Linked DNA regions of Homo sapiens: all the other regions are linked to region 2. The links are contacts of gene promoters, found by promoter capture Hi-C in blood cells and fetal thymus (Javierre and others, 2016). All regions are on one chromosome and are shown on one strand. The core of a region is centred on a gene start or on the middle of the fragment in contact, and the rest is flanking DNA. Distances in the headings are between cores, read along the strand shown. Region 1 overlaps LINC01011 (long intergenic non-protein coding RNA 1011). Region 2 holds the start of WRNIP1 (WRN helicase interacting protein 1). Region 3 overlaps SERPINB6 (serpin family B member 6). Region 4 has its middle 29 kb from the start of SERPINB9.

Region 1 (2,902 bases), core at 267-2,766, 230 kb before region 2:
CAGCTGTTATTCTTTTAGACTGATTGAATTATTCTAAGTTGCTTTTCCAGATTCATCTAATAAAAAGAAAGATTGGATCTGACATGAACAGTGTATAAATTAGTACAAGAAAGTCTCTTTTCTGAATCAAATCTTGGTCCTACAGTTTAGGATTTTATTTATTTAATTTACTTTGAGACAGGGTCTCATTCTGTTGCCCAGGCTGGAGAGCAGCGGCGCTATATCTCAGCTCACTGCAACCTCCGCGTCCCGGGTTCAAGCGATTCTGGTGCCTCAGCTTCCTGAGTAGCTGGGACTACAGGTGAGCGCCATCACACCCGGCTAAATTTTTTATTGTATTTTTAGTAGAGACAGGGTTTCATCATGTTGGCCAGGCTGGTCTCCAACTCCTGGCCTCAAGTGATCCACCAGCCTCAGCCTCCCAAAGTGCTGGGATTACAGGAGTGAGCCACCATGCCCAGCCTAGTTTAGGATTAAAAAATTGTTCTATGCCTTAATGCCAAAGATAGAACATTGTAATAATTATTTTATTACAATTTATGTAATTATTTTAATTATTTTATGTCTTTAAGAAACAATTTGCCTCTGTCATATCTCACATTAAAATGGAAAAAAAAATTCCTTATGTTTGTGTTCTAACAAATTAAAAGTTGTGTATCATTGTGAATTCAAAAGAGAAGCAGGTAACACATGAACTGGGATCATGGAAACCAAACCAGAATAAAGCAAGCCCAGCACAATACTATCTTGGAGGCTGACCAGTTAGAAGGTCTTAAACATAATATATTTTAAACAAACAGTTAAAGGAAAAAGATTAACCTAGTGTTGTAACCGAGCGAGTTACAGAGAAACGCCACACTCTGAGACGAATTCAGGAGTCCTTTATTAGCCGGCAGCCGAGAGACAGCTAGCGCTCGAAATTCTCTTGGCCCCGAAGAAGGAGCTAGATTTTCTTTTATACTTTGGTTTAGACAGGGGAGAGGGGGAGTCTAGTTGAAACAATCTTACAGAAGTAAAGTAGGCAAAAAGTTAAAAGGATAAACGGTTACAGGAAAGTAAACAGTTCCAGGTGCAGAGGCTTTAAGTCTATCCTAAGGTGATGGACGCCGGGCTTTGGGCGTTATCAACCGGACACAAACGCAGGGGCTCTGGGTGCTATTAACCGGGCGAATTCCTGGGAACTGCGGATATAGCTTGCCACAGTATCTTATCAGTTAATTGCATTCTTGATGTGCTGGGAGTCAGCTTGCACAAGTTAAGTCCTTGAGGAAGGGGGTGGGTAAGGGGCTGCGAGTGAAGGAGTCACGATGGAGTCCGTCTGGCTCTCTTAGCTAAGGAAGAGTCACTTCAGGTTAAAACAAGGTAGGGTATCCCACTAGAAGCCTCACATCATTAAGCTTCAGTCAGGCAGGCATTCCTTTAAAAAGTGTTTACTGAGTACCTTCTCTATGTCAGTCACTATTTGGGGCATAAAGGACTCACTTCTCCGCAAAAACAAACTCTGATCCCCCGGTCTCCTCGAGTCACGGAGCTTGCAAGCTAGTGGGAAAAATTGGGAACTGGTGCAAAGAATGACTGCAAAATAAATTGTGGTCATCTTGAAGACATATGCGTGCATGTGTGCGTGAAGCTTTTTAAATAGAGAAGCTTTAAGTGGGGGAAATTTGCTGACATTACACGATTTCTTCTCTTAGTGCAAATGTATACAGCCTGTCTTTTTGAAGGGGTCACGGTAGATAATTATGCTCTGTTAACCTCATTTGTTGTCAGGGAAAATTAAAACTAAGGGTAGTGTCAGTAGGAATCTTGGTTCCTGCCAGTTTTGTTGTTTGTTAGCATATCTTCCTTTACAGGTAGTATGGTTTCATTTTCGTAAAAATGCTGCATAAACGTGGCTGGGTATGTTACTCATTGCAGTGCCTGCTGATTTCGCTGGACCCCACCCTGCTTTTGCTGCCCAATGCGATAGCATATGGGACAGAGCTAAATTCCTACTCAGCTGTAACTCTGCTTATTTTCAGGAAAAAGAATGCCTGTGTTTCGAAGTTCCTTCTTAGGACGAAACCAGCTGAAGCTGGCGAAATCCAAGATGGCGCCTCTGAAGAGCCTCTGGCTTTATCATCATCCTGTTCTCATGCTAAACAACATGTCGCCATGACAACGACTGGAAGAGACCAAGAAGGGACAGAAAAAAAGGGGTTTCTTGATTCCGGGAAAAATCTCCGTTCTTTCCCAAGGAAAGCACGAATATTCCCCCCCGTGCTCTTAATGCCCAGCCCCTTCATTAAAGACACCCTACCTCTGAAACTTCCCAGCTCTCACAAGCTAAGTTGATTTCAGATCTTCCAATTCCATAGCCATTGAATACAGCCTGCACTGCTTGACACACTCCCTTTCGGTTTCGTGCATTGGCCTCACCACGCAACAGGAAACAACCCTTTTTGGGATAACCGGGACTCCCGGTAACATTTCCATATATACATATCTTAATGTATGCAAGGGCGTCTGGGGGAGAAAGAAGCAGCACATTTCATTCTTTGCTTTCTATAATACTGGATTGCTTGAGTTTGTGACACATGTTAACATTTGCAACATTTTTAAACTAAATTGTATGTATTATAGAACAGTCCTCTGCGCTGAGCTTGGACTTAAAGTGGAAAGGCTTACATTTGCAGAATTAAAAAAAGCATCGAAACATTCTGTGGCAGGAAGTCCTGCGAGCCTCCTCGCCCCAGCCCGGTTTCCCGCGGGCCCCAGCCTCATCCCCCAAGGCCCCACCCTGAGAGCCCCCAGGTCCCAGCCGCGTCCTCCTGGACCCCTCCCAGGCGTGGCGAGCCGGGTCGCGGGAGCGCTCCGCCACCAGGGGACAGTGCGGCGCCGACCGTGGGCTGCTGGCTCGGCC
Region 2 (2,917 bases), core at 290-2,789:
TCTGTTAAACCAACAACTAGTGGAAAAGGAAGGAAGCACAACAGAATTAATTTGATTTTTTTCAAAGCTGAATCCGTTATTATGTACAAACGGAATATACAAATGTTTCTTTACAATTTAAACATGCTGATTCCTTGCGAATTCGGTTACTAAATCAAAGTCTGGGGAGGGGGCGGGGAGACCGATGGAAGATAAAGGCAGATCAAATCTAAGAGTCCACATCTTGTAAAACTATGGATTCACAGACATCGTCCTTTTGCAAACCCGGCAAGCCTGCCTTACCAATCTGGGGGTGTGTGCCCTTTTCACACCCATCACAGACTCCACCTGTGGACCAGGCACTGCCCCAGCCCAGCCCAAGTCTGCACCCCCTTATCCAGGAGAGGCAGGCGGCTTCTTTCGAGGGCAGCACACCCGGCTCTCCGACCATCAGCTGCATCCACCGCCGAGATAACTACGGAAGCCCAACGGCCAAGGCCGCACTCACCTTGCCGCAGCCCGGCGGCCCCCACAGGATAAGCGAGGGGATTTCGTTGGTCTCCAGGAGCGAGCGCAGCAGGGTATCCTGGCCCACGGCCTTGCTCTGCCCGAAGTAATCCTGCAGCGTGTCAGGACGCATCGTGTCGGCCAGCGGCTTGCCCTGTAGCATCTGTCGGATCTCCTCGGCAGCCAGCGCCCGGGGGTGCGGGCGGCCCCCGCCACTGGCCCCGAAGGCGGTGGCGGCTTCGGCAGCGTCCGCGTCCCAGTGCCCCGGGTCGTCCTCGCCGTCCGCGTCCGCGTCCCCGTCGCCATCGCCGTCGCCCACGGCCTCCTCCTCCTCCTGCGCCTCCGCCTCGTCCCAGCTGCGCGGAGACGCGCTCCCCGCCGCGGCGGCGGCCGCCGGCCTCTTCCCCGACCCCTTCCTCCCGGGGCTGCTGGAGCGGGCCACCGGGAAGTCGGGGATAAGGCGGGCGCCGCTGGGTGTGGGCGGCGCGTCGTAGCTCTCGCGGCTCTCGGTCTCGCCGCCGTCGTCGCCCTCCTCACCCTCGCCCTCGCTGCTCTCGGCTGCCGTCGGGGTGGCTGGCTGCTTCAGCGCCGAGCTCTCCGACAGCCGCCGCCTCTTGGCGCCGGGCGGCGAGGGCCCCTTGGCCCGCTCCCCGGCGCGGTGCGACCCGGCCGCGGGCTCCGCGTGCCCCGCCGGGTGGAGCAGCAGACAGCGGTCCAGGTGCGAGTTGATGTGCGCGGCGGGCATCATCTGCTGGCACACGGGGCACTGCACCTGGTGCAGCTGCGAAAGGAAGGGGTCGTCTTCCGGCCCGCTCACCTCCATGGCGGCCGCCGCCCTCCCCGGCGCCCGGCGCGGCCGCAGCAACCCGTGCGCACGCGGAGGCCTTCGATGCCCTCCGCTAGGCCCCGCGCCGCGAGACCCTCGCTCGGGGAACCAGCAGGACGCTCGCGGGCCGGAGGAGGGCGCCGCTCATGCCTCACGTCCGCAGCTCCCGCGTCCGCCCGCCCTCGGCCGGCCGCTGGCAGCGCCTCACGCGGCGTGTCGGGAAGTGTAGTTCGTGGCCGTTTGCCCCGGCGGCGGAGGCGCCTCGCGCGGCATGTAAGTAAGTGTAGTCCGTGGCCGTTTGCCCCAATCACCGCCGAGAATACCTCGCGCGGCACTTCGGGAAGTGTAGTCCGCGGCCATTCGCCCCAGCTGCCGTGCGTCCATTTCCGACTCTGAGAACAGCCTTTGCGGGGGCGGGGGAGGGGCGGGGGGGGGGGTTGCGAGGCGAGCGTGGTGCGCGTGCGCGAGGTTGCGCGGTGGCGGACGCAGCCCTCCGCCCAGGCCTGCGAGTCGCGCGAGGGCAGGGAGGAGCCACGGACTGCGCGAGGTTGTTGGAGCGGCGAGCGCCGCTTTCCCGGCCTTCCGTGCTGGGCTGTTGAATGGGCCTGTGGGGACAAGCAGGAGGCGGCCGCAGCGGGTCGTTTGTAACGAAAGGGAAATGGGGGAAAAAACCCAAAAGCCTCCAATAGAAAACCAGTGTTCTATTGGACGTGAACAGCAGAAAAAATACAAACAAGTACGCGAGTGAAAGAAATGCTCACCTCAGTAGTGGTCAGGGAAATGAAAATAAAGCGTCCCTCGCCCCCTTTTAGATGTGTTGGCGTTTAAGTCAAGGGCGGTTCACCTACAGCGCGCTTCGAGCCAAGAGATGCTTCTCGCGGGCCGCTGTGTAATAGTGGCAAATCGGAAACACCAGCCTTCTGTCTCCTTAGCAACCAAATGATGGGAGGCGCCCGTGTGCAATTACGTCCTAGACGGATAGAAATGGAAAGAATATCAGATTAAAACAAGTGTGGTAGTCTGCATCTTTGAATGAATTACCATGTTATTTTTTGCTTTTGTCTAAGTCTCCCGTTTTAAAACATGTATCTCAAAACAGGCATTTTTGGTAACTAGAAGAGGTAAATGAATTGAGGGAGAATGAAGACTTTTCCGAAATTTGGCCAAAACTTGAATTTTTATTTCATCTGGGCAAGAGCACATTGAGGGTCTCACTCGTTCTGTCGCCCAGGCTGGAGTGCAGGGCCGCGACCAGAGCTCACAGCCTTGAACTCCTGGGCGCCCGGGACCCTTCCGCCTTAGCCTTTGGAGTCGTCCTGGGGTTACAGGCTGAGCCACCACGCCTGGCTGGCTGGTTAAGAGTTGTTTCTAACTAAAAAAGTTAGGCTCAAAAATAAGATTAATAGAAACGCTAGAGAAACAAGTTAAACTTTAATCATCATGTAACGTGAAACTACCAAAAGAGGATCGTGAGCTTTCATTATTTTTTTGAGACGCAGTTTCACTCTTGTCCAGGCTGGAGTGCAATGGCGCAATCTCAGCTCACGGCAACCTCCGCCTCCCGGGTTCCAGTGATTCTGCTGTCTCAGCCTCTCGAGTAGCTGG
Region 3 (2,935 bases), core at 303-2,802, 180 kb before region 2:
GTATTTAGTGAATCATTCAGTCACTAAGGTTAGATCTTTTTATATTGCAAGATTGGAGGCTTTGGACCCTGAAGGGGTGCAGGGAGGAATTACTGAAGGCAGGGGTCAGCAAACTTCAGCCTACAGCAAAGCCAGCCCACCACCTAATTTTTTTTAAAGGTTTACTGAAACACAGCCATGCTTATTTTTTTTTTTTATTTTTTATTTTTTCCAAGACAGAGTTTCTCTCTTGTTGCCCAGGCTGGAGTGCAGTGGTGCCATCTCGGAACACTGCAGCCTCCGCCTCCCGGGTTCAGGTGATTCTCCTGCCGTGGCCTCTTGAGTAGCTGGGATTACAGGTGTGTGCCACTATGCCCGGCTAATTTTTGCATTTTTAGTAGAGACGGGGTTTCACCATGTTGGTCAGGTTGGTCTCGAACTCCTGACCTCAGGTGATCCACCTGCCCGGGCCTCCCACAGTGCTGGGATTACAGGCGTGAGCCACCACGCCTGGCCCATGCTTATTTACTTACTTATTTCATCCTGTAACAACAGCTGAGTCGTTGTGACGGAGATGGTACATGTAGCCACAAACCGGAAAATAGTTCCTGTCTGGTCAGTTATGGAAGAAACATGCCTACTGCTGGCCAAGGAAATGAGTGGGGCAGCCGAGGCCCAGGAGACTGCTCTAGCCAAAGGCTAAGGGCCAGCCCAGGCGAGCCTCTACCACGTGAAAGCAGAAAGCTGCCGCCGCAGTGTATTTTATTTATTCCATTTAACACAGAAGAATGTGCTACACCAGAGACTGGGGACCATACGGCGTCTTTGACTGTGCCTATTGCAGGGTATTTACTCAACTCACAGGAGCAGCTCCGAGTCAGGAACTGAGGGGGATTGTTGGATGGGGTGTGGTTCCTGGCCTCCAGTCTTTCTCATTGGCTGGCTGGGGTTGGTGACCAGTGCAGTTTTTTCTGGTGAGATGTGTAAATGTTGCCTGGCCTTTTTAGCATCCCAGCTCATTAATTCGTTTATGCATTTATCATTTATTCAGCAGAGATTGACTGAGTGCCTTTTTTTTTTTTTTTTTGAGATGGAGTCTCGGTCTGTCTCCCAGGCTGGAGTGCAGCGGTGCAATCTTGGGTCACTGCAACCTCTGCCTCCCGGGTTCAAGTGATTCTCCTACCTCAGCCTCCCGAGTAGCTGGGATTACAGGAGCGCACCACCATGCCCAGCTAATTTTTCTATTTTTAGTAGAGGTGGGGTTTCACCATGTTGGCCAGGCTGGTCTCGATTTCCTGACCTCAGGTGATCCGTCTGCCTCAGCCTCCCAAAATGGTGGGATTACAGGCATGAGCCACCATGCCTAACCTGACTGAGTGTCTTCTATGTATCAGGCATGGTGCTAGGTATTTTTCAGCCATGCACAAAACAAGCAAAGCATGCTTGCCCTGGTGAAGCTTATGTTTTCTTGGGGGAGAGACAGCAAGCATAAATAAGAAAATAGGAGCATATTAGACAGTGGTAAATGGTACAGAGACATACCAAGGGAGGGGATAGGAATCTGTGTTTGGGGTGGGAGTGTAGGGTCAGGTAAGATCTATCAAGGACAGCTTCTCTGCCAAGGTGGTTTTTGAACAAAGACCGTAAAGAGGCAGAAGTTCACTCTCCAGGTTCTGGAGGACAAGCTTACTGCGTAGAGATGAGATGAACTGGGTTTGCTGGCAGTGCAGTGAGGAGGCCTCTGTGACTGTAGCAGATAAGCAAAGGGAGAGGGAACTGGGGACGAGCTCTTATCACAATTCCAGGCTTTTTAGGGACTTTCAGCTCCTGCTCCGAGTAAATGGGGAGCCAGGGAAGGGTGTCCAGCCAAAGAACAATGTGATCTGCCTTAGGTTCTACCGGGCCCCTCTGGCCACTGTGCTGGGAACAATCACAATCATATTATCACAATATTCCAGGGCTAGGCTGGTAGCAGCAGAGGCAGAAGGAACAGGTCAGATTTTGTTATATTCTCGAGGTAGAGCCAATATAATTTGCCAGTGAGTCAGACACAGGGTGTGAGAGAAAGACAGGAGTCAGGGGCACTCCAGGGCTTTTGACCACTGGACAGTGGCACTGCCCTCAGCTGAGATGGGCAGAGTTGCAGTAGACAGAGCCGACTTGGAGGATCTACGGAGTGCCGCATTACAGGTGGCGCTGGGAGTTTCTTTTATGTCCAAACATAGGTGCAGGTGGGCAGTAAAATGCAGGAGGCCCAAGGACAGGGCAGAGGCCCAGGCGGGAGGTAAATTTGGTGTGATATTGTGTTTAAAGCCATGAGACTGAATGCGATCAATGAGAGGAAAGACACGTTGGGTTTGGGCCCTGGGCACCCCAGTTTCTGGAGGTTGAGGTAATGAAGATGGCAGAGCAGGCGCTGCCGGGTGTTCTGGAAGCTGGGGAGAAACCGAGCTGCGTTTCTCCCTGCAGAGAGTGGCCAGCTCCGACACATTTGTCCCATGTGTCAGTGGGGTCTTGTTTCAACTTGATGTTTATCTGTTTTCTTTGTAGAATGAGGAGAAACCTGTGCAAATGATGTTTAAGCAATCTACTTTTAAGAAGACCTATATAGGAGAAATATTTACCCAAATCTTGGTGCTTCCATATGTTGGCAAGGAACTGAATATGATCATCATGCTTCCGGACGAGACCACTGACTTGAGAACGGTAACAGCTAAGCTGTGAGCGAGGCGTGCTAGCAAGGAGCCACTCGGGGGTGTCTGCTGTGGCTGCTGTCCCTACTTTGCGGTCAGCCGTTTAACACTGGAGCGCTGCTGACCATAGCCACGCTGCCACTGGTGTCTGGCATCCACAGCATAGCACAGGGCCCTGCTGGGCAGCAGCACCCTGGGTCTTAAAGTCTTCAACTGTCTCCCTCTAGGTGGAGAAAGAACTCACTTACGAGAAGTTCGTAGAA
Region 4 (3,118 bases), core at 592-3,091, 170 kb before region 2:
CCTGTGGGAAAGGGAACTTCTAAAAGCTTATTTTTAATTCTATCCATGAATTAGATGAAAACCTTACACTGCTTTTTAATTTGAAACATCTGATGAAACTTACTTGAACAAAATGAAAGTTTTTCTTCTGCTAATGCAGCCAATGCTTCCATGTATTGCTTTACTTTTTGAAAATGACAGAAATTAACTTCAAATAGCAGTCATTTGATCAAATGAACAGCCTGCTTTACAAACTAATATATAAATATATCCTCTGCAATGCACTTGATAGATTATTATCTTTGGACAGAATTTTCTTTCTTTCTTTCTTTCTTTTTTTTTTTTTTTTTTTGGAGACTGAGTCTCACTCTGTCGCCCAGGCTGGAGTTCAGTGACGTTTATCTTGGCTCACTGCAACCTCCGCCTCCCAGGTTCAGGCGATTCTCCTGCCTCAGCCTCCAGAGTAGCTGAGACTATAGGCACCTGCCACCACACCTGGCTAATTTTTGTATTTTTAGTAGAGACAGAGTTTCACCATATTGGCCACGCTGGTCTCAAACCCTGACCTTGTGATCCACCTGCCTCGGCCTCCCAAGGTGCTGGGATTACAGGGGTGAGCCACCGTGCCCGGCCAGAATTTTCTTAAAATAAGTTCTAACTTTTGAAGGAGGTGCTAGTATTTCCTTATAGATTAGCATCTTATAGTTTTTACATGGTCAGAGATAGCACTATGGTGCCACTGGTGAGTGGTAAGCAGCAACATTTTGTGCACACTAAACATTCCACCTCTTGTGATATGAAAATTCAGTACTTAATTTTTGAGCTCACTGTTTGCTAAAAGGATTTATTGCAAAATTAAAGTATAGCCAAACAGGCTGGGTGCGGTGGCTCTTGCCTGTAATTCCAGCACTTTGGGAGGCCGAGGTAGGTGGATCACCTGAGGTCAGGAGCTCGAGACCAGCCTGGCCAACATGGCGAAACTGTGTCTCTACTAAAAATACAAAAAATTAGCCAGTTACGCTGGCGGGCGCCTGTAATCCCAGTGCTCAGGAAGCTGAGGCAGGAGAATCGCTTGAACCTGAGAGGCGGAGGTTGTGGTGAGCCGAGATGGTGCGACTGCATTCCAGCCTGAGTGACACAGTGAGACTCTGTCTCAAAATAATAAAATTAAGTAAAAAAGTATAGTCAAACAATAAAATAAATGGCTGTAGATTTTCCTATATAATGAATAACAAAACCACTGTAGCAAGAGAGTTTGGGCTTATATCTATAATAATTTATAGCCTCTATTTCCTCTATTTAAATATGCCTCTATTTTTATATAGCCTCTATTTAAATATGCCTAAATTATAGTTTAAACTGTGTACCTAAACTATACTTTTCCACGTTTCCAACTGACTGCCAAATGATGGCTTCTCAAAAGCCACAGCACGAGCCACATTACAACCCAGTGGCTGTCAGGGGAAAGCAGTCCCAAATAATTATCTCCACAGTACTAGAGTCCAGAAGGACGTAGCTGTCCCTAGCTGCTTGTGAACAAGGATTAAGTTGTTTTATCAGTGAGTGAGTTCCTTATGTCCTGTCCTTGAAGGGGGAGACTTCTGGAAAGGATCAGACTCACAAGTTGCCTGTCAGATTTAACCAAGATTAAAGTGAGCATCCTGCACCTGCTGAGTCACTTAGCAATTGATTGTCTCTTGGCTCTAGAGCCTCCTCTCATGTAACCCTGGAGTTGCTGTCACTTCCCTAGATGGCACAATGCTACGCTTCGTCACTAGAGGGTGCCAGTGAGACACTGCCAGGAAAGCCCGGTAGAAAGACACCTGTCGTTCCCAGTTCTGGTTCTCCTGTAACCACTCAGTGCAGGGTCCAGCAGCCCACACAGACCATCTCTAGCCTCATTCTCATGTTTTCTCCATGCAACAGCCATTTCTGCAGTCGCAACAGCTGCAACCTCAGGCAGCTGTGTCCCTACCTGGCCTTTTGCTTCTGCGGACGGCTCTGGCCTGCCACACCCTCTGGCAATGGCAGACAGCTCCTGGTGGCCCACTCTGACCCATGCACTCTGCCAGCAGCAGCTGCATGTTTCTGTGACAGCTGCATCCTCTTCAAAAAGATCTGAGTTTCAGCCCGAAGTGTGTGTGGGGTGGGGGTGCGGTAAAGGTCTCCTAACACTTTAGTCTTTCCTCATCCATTCTCACTGGGCCTGTGGGTAACAGCTGCCCCTTTTTCACATGCTGCGTCTGTGCCCCTTTTCCTAACAATCCTTTATATTCTCCTCTGTTCACATAGCTGATGTGGCTTTGTCTCCTGAGTGGACCCTGACAGGTGTAAGTGTAGTGGGAGCTCACAGTACAAAGTAAAGACCTGCCAACCCCCCTCCTGTAGCTGTTACTAACAACACTTCATTGAAAATGAAAAGCCTGTGACAAATGCTGACCCAGGCAGGACACCAAGGCAACAGGTATAACTGGGACTGTCCCAGACAAGCCATGCTGTATGGTCATCCTGCTGACATGCCATATTCCAAGAGGAGATGAGGATTAATATTTCCTATTTAATTTTCCTGTCTGCATTGCATGCAGTCAGAGCACCCCAACAAGGAATGGATACATTTAGAAGACAAACAGGCCTCCCTAACTGCCACCCAACTCCTTGTCATTTAATACTTCCAGGTAATACCCCTGGAATTAATAGGGTTTCTCATTCGACAAGGCACTAAGGAGACGCTAATGGCAGCTTCCAGGTGGGATCATGTCCGAAACACATGTTTCTCTCACAAGCTCCTTCAAACAGAAAAATCCGACAAACTAATTAATATGACGCTTTTCGAATTGAGGTCCACCGGGTTCCACACATTCCTGGGTCAGCAAGCATTCTCCAACATTTCTCTTCAGTGGCCTGCTTTCATTTGCTAATGATCTTTGAAAAGAGGGTTGGTTAATTTGATATTTACATTTTTTTTTCTTTTGGAATAGCAAGAATTCCAAATGTAATGACCTGTTCTGTGAAAAGTGGCGATTAGTGGAATACCTAGCAAATATTTTTGAAAAACTGTAATGGATTGCCTTTGTAGGTAAAGATGCATCTTATTGAAAGAGGGTGGAATGATCATTTTAAAACATCTATTTGAAAGTTT

The links. The method cuts DNA at HindIII sites, captures the fragments that hold promoters and counts their contacts. A CHiCAGO score of 5 or more calls a contact.
Region 1: a contact is called between a fragment that was not itself captured here and the fragment with the promoter of WRNIP1 in region 2, in 6 of 17 cell types (megakaryocytes, erythroblasts, total B cells and 3 more). The highest score is 13.2, in megakaryocytes.
Region 3: a contact is called between a fragment that was not itself captured here and the fragment with the promoter of WRNIP1 in region 2, in 1 of 17 cell types (megakaryocytes). The highest score is 6.6, in megakaryocytes.
Region 4: a fragment that was not itself captured here is called in contact with the fragment with the promoter of WRNIP1 in region 2 in 2 of 17 cell types (neutrophils and megakaryocytes); the score reaches 7.4 in neutrophils.

Annotation. Positions count from the first base shown.
Region 1 is chr6:2,989,131-2,992,032 of GRCh38, reverse strand. It overlaps LINC01011 (long intergenic non-protein coding RNA 1011), which reads right to left. Exons shown (of 3, transcript NR_026856.1): 2 at 2,300-2,505; 3 at 862-2,164. It overlaps NQO2-AS1 (NQO2 antisense RNA 1), which reads left to right. Exons shown (of 2, transcript NR_186367.1): 2 at 2,022-2,697. Among named protein-coding and RNA genes, the nearest start is that of LINC01011, 2.6 kb to the right of the region's middle. RefSeq lists enhancers at 887-1,694, 1,972-2,131, 1,695-2,504, 2,505-2,902 and a silencer at 2,702-2,902. The HindIII fragment of the contact is 233 bases long and covers 1,400-1,632 here.
Region 2 is chr6:2,764,015-2,766,931 of GRCh38, reverse strand. WRNIP1 (WRN helicase interacting protein 1) reads right to left here and starts at 1,539. Exons shown (of 7, transcript NM_020135.3): 1 at 488-1,539. The coding sequence starts at 1,309. It also overlaps a transcript of MYLK4 not described here. RefSeq lists silencers at 619-938, 1,109-1,568, 1,729-1,778, 2,159-2,248 and enhancers at 1,703-1,997, 2,095-2,917. The HindIII fragment of the contact is 13,290 bases long and covers 1-2,917 here.
Region 3 is chr6:2,948,664-2,951,598 of GRCh38, reverse strand. It overlaps SERPINB6 (serpin family B member 6), which reads left to right. Exons shown (of 7, transcript NM_004568.6): 6 at 2,530-2,685; 7 at 2,900-2,935. Among named protein-coding and RNA genes, the nearest start is that of SERPINB6, 21 kb to the left of the region's middle. The HindIII fragment of the contact is 228 bases long and covers 1,439-1,666 here.
Region 4 is chr6:2,931,001-2,934,118 of GRCh38, reverse strand. No RefSeq gene overlaps it. Among named protein-coding and RNA genes, the nearest start is that of SERPINB9, 29 kb to the right of the region's middle. The HindIII fragment of the contact is 3,626 bases long and covers 29-3,118 here.